Regions from separate parts of the Homo sapiens genome. Here all the other regions are linked to region 1. The links are contacts of gene promoters, found by promoter capture Hi-C in blood cells and fetal thymus (Javierre and others, 2016). All regions are on one chromosome and are shown on one strand. The core of a region is centred on a gene start or on the middle of the fragment in contact, and the rest is flanking DNA. Distances in the headings are between cores, read along the strand shown.

The links. The method cuts DNA at HindIII sites, captures the fragments that hold promoters and counts their contacts. A CHiCAGO score of 5 or more calls a contact.
Region 2: a fragment that was not itself captured here is called in contact with the fragment with the promoter of TNFRSF21 in region 1 in 2 of 17 cell types (M2 macrophages and M0 macrophages); the score reaches 6.6 in M2 macrophages.
Region 3: a fragment that was not itself captured here is called in contact with the fragment with the promoter of TNFRSF21 in region 1 in 1 of 17 cell types (fetal thymus); the score reaches 5.1 in fetal thymus.
Region 4: a fragment that was not itself captured here is called in contact with the fragment with the promoter of TNFRSF21 in region 1 in 2 of 17 cell types (M0 macrophages and M2 macrophages); the score reaches 5.7 in M0 macrophages.

What each region holds. Positions count from the first base shown.
Region 1 is chr6:47,308,413-47,311,290 of GRCh38, forward strand. It overlaps TNFRSF21 (TNF receptor superfamily member 21), which reads right to left and starts at 1,493. Exons shown (of 6, transcript NM_014452.5): 1 at 1,004-1,493. The coding sequence starts at 1,099. RefSeq lists enhancers at 444-1,166, 1,330-1,509, 1,461-1,755 and a silencer at 960-1,189. The HindIII fragment of the contact is 9,028 bases long and covers 1,436-2,878 here.
Region 2 is chr6:47,036,422-47,039,296 of GRCh38, forward strand. All of the region lies in intron 1 of ADGRF1 (adhesion G protein-coupled receptor F1), which reads right to left. Among named protein-coding and RNA genes, the nearest start is that of ADGRF1, 4.5 kb to the right of the region's middle. The HindIII fragment of the contact is 1,751 bases long and covers 529-2,279 here.
Region 3 is chr6:46,861,163-46,864,274 of GRCh38, forward strand. It overlaps ADGRF5 (adhesion G protein-coupled receptor F5), which reads right to left. Exons shown (of 21, transcript NM_001098518.2): 15 at 1,726-1,934. Among named protein-coding and RNA genes, the nearest start is that of ADGRF5-AS1, 41 kb to the right of the region's middle. The HindIII fragment of the contact is 379 bases long and covers 1,332-1,710 here.
Region 4 is chr6:47,019,847-47,022,932 of GRCh38, forward strand. ADGRF1 (adhesion G protein-coupled receptor F1) reads right to left here. Exons shown (of 15, transcript NM_153840.4): 6 at 2,112-2,212; 7 at 885-943. Among named protein-coding and RNA genes, the nearest start is that of ADGRF1, 21 kb to the right of the region's middle. The HindIII fragment of the contact is 1,585 bases long and covers 942-2,526 here.

The sequences.
Region 1 (2,878 bases), core at 243-2,742:
CATCCCTCCTGCAGTGATAAAAGATAGGCAAGGGAAGCTCAAGGGTTTGATCTCAAATTTTCTTCCACCTAACTTGCCCCTTCACCCCAATATTTGGAAATAAAGGGAGGGAATTTGGGGGAAGTTGAGGGTAAGTTTTTGGTCAAGATGATTGACCCGAGATGTGGATGCAGCTTAGACGATGAGGGAGACTGCACCACCCTGCAGGGTCACCTGCCTAGCCACAGGTAAACGAGGGATCGGAAAGACTGTAGAAAATTCATCTTCCTTCACACACATCTCCTTCCCCCTCCCCCCATTCCAGTGCCGGCGCGCTGGCTGGCTGGAAGCCGGCGCTTTGGAGGCGCCGGAGAGTGGGTCTAAGGGTGATATTTCGGCATACAGAACCTGAGACCCCACCCGAGCCAAGAGGGAAGAGAGAGGGTAAAGGGATTGAGGAGGGGGCGGCTTGCGCCCTGCTCGGGAATGCACCGCGCGACAGCACCCGGAGGTCTCCGGTGTCCGGCGCGCACCGGTACCACTGTCTTCCACTGCGGTAGCATCCCGACATGACATTGCAGCTGCAACAAAGCGCCGGCCTCGGCCGGCCGTGGGAGCCCCACACCGCGGCGAGGCCCCACACCACGCAGAGGGGCAGTGGCCGATGGGTGGGGGGCTGTGGCTGCGGGCGTGGGGAGCGCGAGGTAGGCCGAGTAGGGGGAAAAGCCCTCAAATGCGCAGAAGCTGGGCGGCTACCTCTAGCGTCTCCTCCAGCAAAGCCAGACTGCAAGGAAAACAATTCGTCTTCATTCCCCAGCCCCGGCTGAGCCCTGAGATTCCCCCAAATAACCTAGTCGAGGCCCTCTGGTGTGTTGCCTTCCCTTGGAAACCCCTCAGTGCCCGTAACCCAGTCGGCCGGGCCCCGCGCCTCCCTAAGCCCCGGCCCGGTGACCCGCCCGGCTCCCGGAGAGCGGTTCCTTCTGCTCCGGCGCCGCCGCCACCCCCGGTCCACGCAAGCGCTCACCAGGAGAAGGGAGCCCGCGATCATCGTGGCTGTGGCTCGGCGGGCGATGCGGCTGCAGGAGGCGAGGGCGGTGCTGCTGCTCGGAGAGGTCCCCATGGCTGAACCGGGGACTCGCAGGGGCGCCCGGGGCGCGCGGGGCAGCTGGAATCGGCGGCTGCTTCTGCCCAGCGCCGCATCCACCGCCGCCTCCCGGGCCGGGAGCCCATCTACCTCCAACACCCCATGTGCACTGCTGCGGCCGGGCAGAGGAGGGAGGCGGCAAGGGAGGCTCTAGGGGCGCTCAGCACCTGCCCAGCGGCGCGGCCGCCCAGGCGGGGAGAAGCCGCCGCGACTGCAGCCCGCGTCTCCGGGTGCTCTCCTCCGACAGCGGCTGAGGAGAACCAGGGAGGAGGACTGGGCGCGAGAGAGCAAAGGAACGACTTCCCATAGCGAAGCTTCCAGCCACTGCCAACCACCCTCCTCCGCTGCCCAGACTGGTCGGCGAGGGACTGAGTCGGTGGCCACCGGGCGCAGGGACACACGTGGTGGCGCCGAAGGGGCGGGGGACCGGCCCTTTGTGATGTCACCCGGGAGGAGGCCGGGCTCTTTGTGCGGTTGGAAAGGCGAAGGCGTTCCAGGTAGAGCGGGGAGGGAGAGGGTGCCCCTTGGCGTTCGCTGAGGAAATTGCACGCGCCTGTTGACCCAGGGAAAGCGCTGAGAAAGCATCTCACTCCTGATCTAACTTTACTTATTTTTTCCGAGATAATTCCAACTAAATTATTTCAGCTACATACGCCTTTCCATTGTTTCGGACACGATGATTAAATCAGAGAGCGATGGTGAATAGACCACAGAGCACTTAGATCAACTGCGTGACGAAAAAGGAGACCTGTGTGTTGCTTCTCAAACTTTGCTGCCCTGTGGAATCACCTGGAGAGTTCAAAACATATATATTGATTCTTGGGTCCCACCTCTAGAGACTCTGATTTAATTGGAACAGGACAGGATCTGGTCTGGGCATTGAGGTTTGTTGTTGTTGTTGTTTGTTTGTTTTTTAAGTTTTCAGGGTGATTTTAATATGGGGCAAAGATTTTAATTTTTTATATTTTAATTTTAATATGGGCTTATGAATGCAATTAAGGAAATCCAAACTAAAAGGATTTAAAACCCAGAGTCATTGGTGTTGGGTCCATGGATGGTCTTGGAGGGACTTTTGAACTCCTTGAAATGTATCAAAAGATGCATTTTCCTAATTTAAAAATCAAGAGTTTTGAATCGGATTATCCCTGAGATTTTTTTTAATCACCCTTCCCCCAAAAAATAATGCTAAAAATTTTTGAGTTGATTTCCAAAGGCCTTGTCAGGATGTGGGTGGTAGAATAGGTAGTATTCTGCTTCAGAAGGAGAACTGGAATATTCTCGTGGATGTTGGTATCTCACACACTTCTGAATGTAAGAGAGCAGCTGTTATCCTTTTCTTTGTTTCACCTGGGGGAAGGCCGAGTCTCCTGACTGTGGCCACCATTTCTGGTATCGTGTTATCCATCATCTAGGTACTGACAGCACATGGCACACTGTATTGATATTACCTCTTCAGCCATCCAGTCCACACCCCTCAATTGGGAGCCCTATGGTGCTGGGCTTATCCTAGGCTCCTTTGGTCCCATTTCAAAAGAATCACACTTTTTAAACTATCAGTTTCAAGATCCAACACCCAGTGCTAATAAAGGTAACTTGCTAAGTCATAGGTACCAATTATTTGCTTTATTAGTTAACATGTTGTCCTTTGATTCTTTGCTCTATGCACACTTTGGTAGAAGCTAAAATTAATATGAGGGTTAATTCCAATCTATTATTTCAAACATTTGTCAGTATTGTCTATAAATGTTAGAGTGG
Region 2 (2,875 bases), core at 154-2,653, 270 kb before region 1:
AGCTATCTTCCTGACAAATATGATTGTCCTCAGTGTCGAAGGAGAGTCAGGAGTCCAAGGATGGAAACACAAATGATCAGGCCTGCTGGAAAACCCCTGCAGAACAGGCTCTGTGGGACCTTTATACATAAATGGTCAGATTAAAGATGTCACAAACTCTTCTTGGGTGATCTGTTTTAAATAGGAGTAAAACATACTTCTCCGACTTCTCATTCAATGGTTACACTGATAAATCTTCATTGTTTCAAACCTACCAAAACCCACTAATTCTTTATGTTTCCCTTTACATATGAATAGTATTTTCATTATAATTTTCTTAAAAAGTAAAAATAAGTTTTAAAATCATATTCCCCAGATGATTCTTCTAGAAATAGAACTAGTTGACTGGCATTCCACCTATCCTGAAAATATCACATCAGTTCATCCTCAGAAACCATCAAGATTCTACACCATACAGAATGAAAAGCAAACTCAAGATCATAGCAGTTTTGAACTCCCACAATTTGTGCTCAAACTTCCCTTCTATTAAGCTTCCTTTCACGCATCTGAATTCCAGGCAAACCAGGATTTAACTTTTAACTTTTCTAAGTTAAAAGGAAAGTGCTGCTTCAAAAGGTTTATATATGTTGAGTTTTTCTAGACATGGCCAAATTGACCTCCTAACCTGTACCCATTTATACTCACTGGTAAGGTGCAGAAATGCCTGTTTCATCACTCTATCCACAGTATCTTTTTAATGTTCCCAAATGGATAGGCAAAATTTTTGCCTTATTGTTTTAATTTTCCTGTGTTTGACTATCAGTAAGTTTAAGCATTTTTTCAGGGGTTTACTGACCATTTGTATTTTTTTCCAGCTTGACTATTTAAGTCATTTTCCTAAATTTTTTGATTAGAATGTTCATCTTTTTCTTAAAAATTGTGTTTTAGGAACTCTTTTGTCTTTGTCGCTCCTGTTATAGGTATTTGCTCATGATTTGTAGTTCATCTTTAAAACTTTTGCCTTATTTTCTTCTGCACAAAAGTTTAAAATGTTCATGAAATCACACCTGTTAATCTTTTCCATTATGGATTTTACTTATTCATTTTTACTTTTGGTTGTATTTAGAGACAGGGTCTCATTCTGTTGCCCAGGCTGGGGTGCCGTGCCATGATCATAGCTCACTGTAGCCCCATCCTGGGCTCAAATGATCCTCTCGTCTCAGCCTCCTGGGTGGCTGGGACTATAGGCACACACCACCACACCCAGCTAATTATTTTTTAATTTATTTTTTTGCAGAGACATGGTCTTGACATATTGTTCACACTGGCCTTGAACTCCTGGGCTCAAGTGATCCTTCTTCCTTAGCCTCTCAAAGTGCTGAGATTTCAGGTATGAGCCACGACACTCAGCCCCATTATGGATTTTAAACTTAGGGTTGTGTGAAGAATGTGTGGTTTTGTTTGTTTGTTTGTGTTTTGAGACGGAGTCACGCCCTGTCACCCAGGCTGGAGTGCAGTGGTGCAATCTCTGCTTACTGCACCCTCTTCCTCCTGGGTTCAAGTGATTCTCCTGCCTCAGCCTCCCGAGTACCTGGGACTACAGGTGCACGCCACCATGCCCGGCTGATTTTTGTATTTTTAGTAGAGATGTGGTTTCACCATGTTGGCCAGGTTGGTCTCGAACTCCTGACCTCAGGTGATTCACCCGCCTCAGCCTCCAGAAGTGCTGGGATTACAGGCGTGAGGCACCGTGTCCGGCCGAAGAATGTGTTTTCTATAAAAAGATTGGAAAACATTCTTCTACATTTTAGTCTAACAGTTAGTTCTTAAAATTATTTTTAGTACACTTAATTCTTCAATCTTTCTTAAGTTAATTTAGGTTTTGGGACGAAATAAGTAAATATTCAATCCTGCTGGAATTTATTTAGGTTTTCAGATTTCCTTTCATTTCCTCCAAGTGAATAGCCAAGTTTGCCAACTATTTTTCCCAATGAAACAGTTTTTTATCCAGACCACCTTGATAATTCTTTATCAATTCTATTTATTTTAAATTTTATTTTTAATTGACAAATAATAATTGTACACATTTATAGAGTACCTAGTGATGTTTTGATATATGTGATATACAGTGATCAGATCAGGGTAATTAGCATATCCATCATCTCAAACGTTTATCATTTCTTTGTGTTGGGAACATTGAATACTCTCCTTCTAGCTATTTGAAACTATATATTATTGTTAAGTATAATCATTCTACAGTGGTATAGAACACTAGAATTTATTCCCCCTGTCTAGCTGTAAGCTTGTTTAATGAGGCCCTTTTCCTATAAAATTCTGACCTAAATATATTTTTAAAATTCTACTGCTATCTACATCTTTTACCAATTACTTGCTTAATTGATACCTTGTTCAACAACGTAAAAGACTATGATATGCCTAAGAAATATATCATTAAGTGTCTTATCAGAAATAATTAGCTTGATTATCTAAGAGACGAAGCATAGGAAAGTCTCCAAGTAGAGTCGGGCTGCATGCAGTACAAACACAAGTGTAAAAGGTGTTCATGGAAAATATAATCTGCTTAACACAAATTCTCTTTACCCAAAACTTTGCAGGTGTGAATCTGTTGTACTATGACAGGCTGTCCCAACTTCACAAATGTATAATAAATATCTGCTTATCCCAAAACAATAAAGAAACTCTTATCAGGTTTTAAAGTTTTGTCTTCCAAGAAAGAAGAAAAGAATAAGAAAATTTTCTTAAGGACTTTAAAGTCTTTAGATTTGTGGACCTCTGGAGATTAAAAACTGACATTTGCACTAAAACCAAGAAGACACCATGAGGATCTGATAATGCTCATCAATAAAATGTAACTAGAGTTTGCAGTTTTAGGACT
Region 3 (3,112 bases), core at 271-2,770, 450 kb before region 1:
TGATGGCTAGAGAAGTAGGTTAAAGTTGGGTGCAATGGTCACTTGGATAGTCGGTATGGAAGCACAGTTGCCACTTTTTGGTTTTCCTCATATCACTTACCCTGCCAATCATTAAAGTGACTGACCCTTCCAATTTTCCAGGGACTGTTCTGGTTTATACCTTTTCTCCTTGTGTATTTATTAAGAGTGCCCTCTTATATTCTCAAAATGTGTCCCGACTTAGATGATAGATTATATGGTCACCCTACCTGTATGATTACACTTCTGCTTTCTAACTCTCTCTTACTTAATCGTATAGAATAGCTCAAATTCTGTCTTCTACGAAAAGCATTTGATAGATGTTCCAACCCAGGAAAGTTCCTTCCTCTGAATGCGTAAGTATTGGTTTTATATAACATACTTTCATTTGTGGCATCTCCAGTAGTGTCATCTTGTGTTCTAATTTTGATATTGCTCCAATTAAATTATAAGCTCCTTAACAACATGGACCATGTGCTACATTTCTTTACATTCTTCTCATTCCTATAATTCCTAACATAGTACAAGTCATATAACTCAGCACACAGTAAGTATCCAGTAAGTATATGCTGAATGGATAAATCAAAGGAAGCATGATAGAGCAGCATGATCCTTTTCCATTGAAAATGTATGTAGGTATCTAGAATTGGGACTTGGGCCCACATCGAGTTCAGATTACAATTTCTATCTTTCTTCATTAGGATAATTTATATCTCTCATGCCTCATTCATCAAGGTCCAGCTCAGATGCCTATTTTTTTCAAGCAGATCTTCTTAATTTATCTTAGCCAAATTAATGTGTATGTAACTACCCAATTCGATTATTTTCTTTACCAGAGACAAAGATCTGATTTGGCCCATTTACCTTGACAGCACCTATAATCATGCTTTGCACATAGTAGAGATTTTAATAAATTTGGTGTGAGACAAGAGAAGAGATAGAAGTTAATTAGATGAAACACATATAAGTATTACCCTTTTTTTCAATTATTTACCCAGTGGTGAGAGGATTTGGAATTGGTTGTCTGAAGATGTCATCATTACCTATAACCTCACCAGTTGCATCACCAGAATTTTTTAATGTAATTCATGGAATTTTAGGAGTCTAACAACAAATCAAGTGTGGAGGTCCCATTTTTTTACATTGACAGAAGGAAAGGAACTTCTGCCCTGTTACATAGCGGTAACCTCTATTATAGGTAAGAGAGGCAGGGTAGTTGCTTCTTCAAAAGCACAAGTTACTTCCAAGTAGTCAGAAAATTTCATACCTGTAAGAGCATCAAGCCCAGCTATTTTTTTTAAAGAAATTGATGAAGCTTGTTTTTTTATATTGCTCCTTTTTCTGAAAGGATTATAGCAATTTTCTTGGTATCAAAATTACTCAAAGGAGAGCAATAAGAGAGAGGATAATACCGCTGCCCCCTGGAGGTATGGAACACATGGTACTGAGAAGTCAAGGTTAAGGTATCTAGTCGGTCTGAGAGCAGAACACATACTTAGTTGTCTTAGTATTTGAATTGAGGCTTTTTTTTTTTTTTTTTTTTTTTTTTGCATTTCTAGGGTTGCATCTCCTTTGGAAATACACAAATAAAAGTAGTTTTGGAGCAACACAAAGCAGCACCAAACCCATTTTCCTAAGTGCTGAGAAATATGATCAGCCAGATAGATCGCCCCACCAAGAGCTCAGAGTGGAAGCTTTAAGGATCACCTTAGCCATCTGGAGCAGACTGTTTATTGGGGCAGAGATGCAGTCATTTCTCTTCTCCTCCCACTGGGAGCCTACACATTTGTAAGTGATGGTCCCGCCAATGGGACTCTCAGGGCTGCTGGGAACGTTTGAGAACCGGCATAGCTTCTGGATGACTTTCCCCGGCTCTCCGACACCTATTACGGGATCCTGGCATGTGATGTTTTCCCCTGTGTTGGAAACATTGAAATAAAGGGATAATTGCAAGGAAGAGACAATATAGTAGAAATACGGTCAGGCCAAGGTAGAATTTTGATGTTTGAATTCACATTTACCTTTACTTTCCGTCACCTTTTCAGAACTACCCAATTTCTTAATTTTGCCCTTGATTTTCCAAAGCCCCTCTCTGCTTTCCACATGAACCTGACTTCTGTAATCGGAACTTCCTTTTCCTAACAGAATTTTATACCTTCATCTGGAGATTCTCAACTGTGACATATTAGAATCATCTGGGAAGCTTTTGAAAACACCAGTGTCTGGGCTAAGTAAATCGGAATCGTCAGAGCGGGATTTAGGCATCAGCAGGTTTTTAAGCCTCCCTGGTGATTCCAGTGTGCTGTCAAGGTTGAGAATCACTGCCATAATCCAAAGACATAATTGCTAGTAGGAACTCTAGGTACCCATGACCTGAATATTCTAATCAATATGTTTAAGCATTTGTTCCTTCTGGTTTCCCTTAGAGGTGATTCTATTTCACCTCTTCTCATGACCAGGCAAGGATGGGGAAATGACACTTGCTGTGGAATCTCTCATGTCCAGTGGACCCTGACTCTGATGAGACCCCTCCCTCACCAACACTTTTCTTTAACATTAAGATCTTAACCACTGTATATAAATCTTAAATAAGTAATGTTCTACTAGGAAAAAGAAGCGAAACCATATTTGGTATAAAGAAAGAGGAGAAGAACAAAGATAAGTGAATAAAATGTGTTGGCTAAGATGAGTGATGGGGAAAAGAAGAGGTGACCTTTGCTGCACCCTGGAGGGGTTGTACTTGTGCGTGGAAAGGTCAGGTGAAAGTGACTCTAAATTGTTTCCTGTTTTGGTGCCCAGGGGCTAGTTGCCAACATGTGAGAATGACCACAAACTATTCAGTAAACTCAAACAATCTTGGTGATAACGATCCTTTGTCTATCACAAGTCCTGTTGCTGGGAAGATTTAAGAGGATGAGGAGTTGCTTATGGTAGAAGCCCAGGGTCATCATTTACCCCTTGTCTTAACATAAGATTCTCCCTTAAGATGACCTTGTATTAGGATGATCTATCCTTCCCTGCTGCTGAGGGGAGCTCCCCAACATGGGCTAGCATAGCAATGACTCTGTAAAACATGAACTTTCACCTCAAAGAT
Region 4 (3,086 bases), core at 484-2,983, 290 kb before region 1:
AACTAAACAACTTTTGGAATTAAGGCATAAACAAAAGGATAATTTACTAAATATTTCTTTATTTGCTGTAAACAATGACTACTGGGTTTTGAACTATGATGTATACATGTTATCTGTGCAAAGATATCTCACCCAAAGCCCCACTTCTGGCTCCGAATTATGAGGCATCATATCTCCTGTAGTTGCTGAAGGAGAAAATCCACCCTTCGACAACCCGCAACCCTTATCCCCAACCCTCACTTTTTCCCATCCACTGTCACCATGATCTCCTGCCTTCTTTCAAGTTTCTGCCCTACTGCTATTGTTTTGTAGTTCTACTCACTGACCCACAGTTTTGAGAATGCTTTCCAATATTTAAGGTCCTAGGCCAGATGTGGTGGCTCATGCCTGTAATCCCAGCACTTTGGGGGCCGAGGCAGGCGGATCACCTGAGGTCAGGAGTTTGAGACCAGTGTGGCCAACATGGTGAAACCCTGTCTCTACTAAAAATACAAAAAAAGTTAGCTGGATGTGGTGGCAGGTGTCTGTAATTCCAGCTACTTGGGAGGCTGAGGCAGGGGAATCTCTTGAACCCGGTAGGCAGAGGTTGCAGGGTTGCAGTGAGCCTAGATTGTGCCATTGCACTCCAACTTGGGCGACAAGAGTGACATTCTGTCAAAAAAAAAAAAAAATTTAAGGTCCTAAACTCATTTAAGTGAGAATCTAGGCTTTACTCTTCAGACTTTTTAAAGCATCACAGATCCTTGTTCACTTAGTAAAAATCCTACTATAAAGATGACTTCTGTCCTGTTTTCTGTCAGGGTCACCTAAAAACAGCACTCTGCCTTTTGCAGAACTGGTGCCCAATTCTGGGGATGCCCTTCTAAGACCATTGTGTTACTTACCGAAATTGGGTGACCTGAACCGACTCAAAACCTTGAATTCTTTCATATGCTTTTTTAAGCTTAGAAAGAGAACAAAGAACAATGTGTTAATTGTTCTTCCCGTACTTCAGAAAGACATTTGAGCAAAAATTGATACAGACAATAAATAAATCAACAGTAGCAAAGGAGCAAAGAAAAGAGACACAGTGGGAAGTAATTGCATGTCATACAAATACAGTTAAAATAACAGTTGTGAATGTATACATACACACACACATATCCATACATATACACGTATAAAATGTACCTTTGAGATTGCTAATAAATTGTGAATAACCAACTGCTTAGAATAGGAGATGAATTTGATGCCAGATCGTAGAATAAATTTACCCAAAATCCATTTTTTCCTTATGAAAAACAAGCCATTAATTTTTACAGGTACTTAGACCGAATCCATCTATTAAGTATTTGCTCGGGTCTTCAGTTAGAGCTACACCTGAGCCAGCATCCTAGGCAGAGGGACACTGATCTAGTTTTTATGTGACTTTATTATAAAGTTGAGAGTTTTGCTCAGTAACTCTCTTCAGCCTCTAACAACAGAGTTTTCTTTATAGAACAAATCCCAAATGCTGACAATTGAGCTTAGATCATGATTTTTTTTTGTTTTTTGATGTGGAGTCTCACTCTGTCACCCAGGCTGGAGTGCAGTGGCACAATCTCAGCTAACTACAAACTCCACCTCCCGGGTTCAAGCAATTCTCGTGCCTCATCACCTGAGTATCTGGGATTACAGGTGTATGTCACTATGCCCTGCTAATTTTTGTGTTTTTTAGTAGAGATTGGGTTTCACCATCCTGGCCAGGCTGGTCTCGAACTCCTGACCTCAAGTGATCTGCCTGCCTCAGCCTCCCAAAGTACTGGGATTACAGGCGTGAGCCACCATGCCCGGTCCATAAAAATTTTTTATAAAAAAATTAAAAGAGAAAATAATCAAGAAGCCTTAGTATATTGCTAAAATAAGTGAGCAAAACTGAACACAAGAGAAGTGCAAAGAAGTCAGCTGCTAAACTTTCCTAGAAAGAAGATACTCAGGGAATTTCAACTGTGGGCAGAGCAAATAACTGTTTTGTTATTTGCTCACTGAAAACGAATAATTAAGAATATGTATTAAATATACATGCTGAATTGAAAACATTTGAACTTGAGTGTAGCAAACGATTCCTTATATAATAAGTAGAAAGTGCTTACTTGAATTTCAATTCCATTTGCATATTTGGAGTATATAGCAGAAGATGAATTCAAAAGGTCATTTGTAAACCTTTCATTAATTTTGAAAGTGCCCCAAATCTCTGTAGGAAATAAAAATAAGTTTATAGACATAATAAATTTCTAACTTGATTTACTAGTAGCATACAATTATAGAAGTACAATTCAGAGTCATCTATTCAACAGTGATGTTTCAAATTTTTTTCATAAGAAATGTTCACCTAAAATAACACAGGATGCATACATAAAAGCAGAGTTTCTGACTGCAGATTTGGAGCAGTAATAGGGAAGTGCTGGTAATCAAGGCAACCTTAAAAGTAGGTAAATGCGTGGCCTCTCATGTGTCACTAAAGAAGGCATTCACTGAACTCTGAAATGTATCTTCATCTGGGCAATAAGCTTAAGCATTGTCCCTATTAAAAATTAAACGATGACCGTAACAGCAACACTACTTGCTAACTCCAACACATTCCTTACTTACCCATTGCCAGTACTTCTCTGCAATGGGACAATTCTCTGTGTGGACAAATTCTATTTATCCTTCATTCAGGACCTAGTCAAATATCATCTCTTCCACAAGGTCTTCTCTAATCCTCAGATGCAGAGTCTTTCTCTCCTCTAAATTCCTACAGTACTTTATCCCTATCTGCCTCCCATCCTCTTACATATTCCTAAACATTGATTTGTGTATGTCTCATCTATGCACATCTCCACGGTACTGTGGGAAGCTCCTCATAAGTGTCATCCCTGTCTGATCCAGTTTTGTATCTTTCAAAGATGGATTAGACATGGACCACCTTTTTCTTTCCTTTCTTTCTTTTCTTTTTTCTTTTTTTTTTTTTTTTTTTAGTCAGGGTCTCACTTTTGTCACCTAGGCTAGTGTGCAGTGGCACGATCTTGGCTCACTGCAGCCTCAGTCTTCTGGGTTCAAGCAATCCTCTTCCCTCAGCCCCCCAA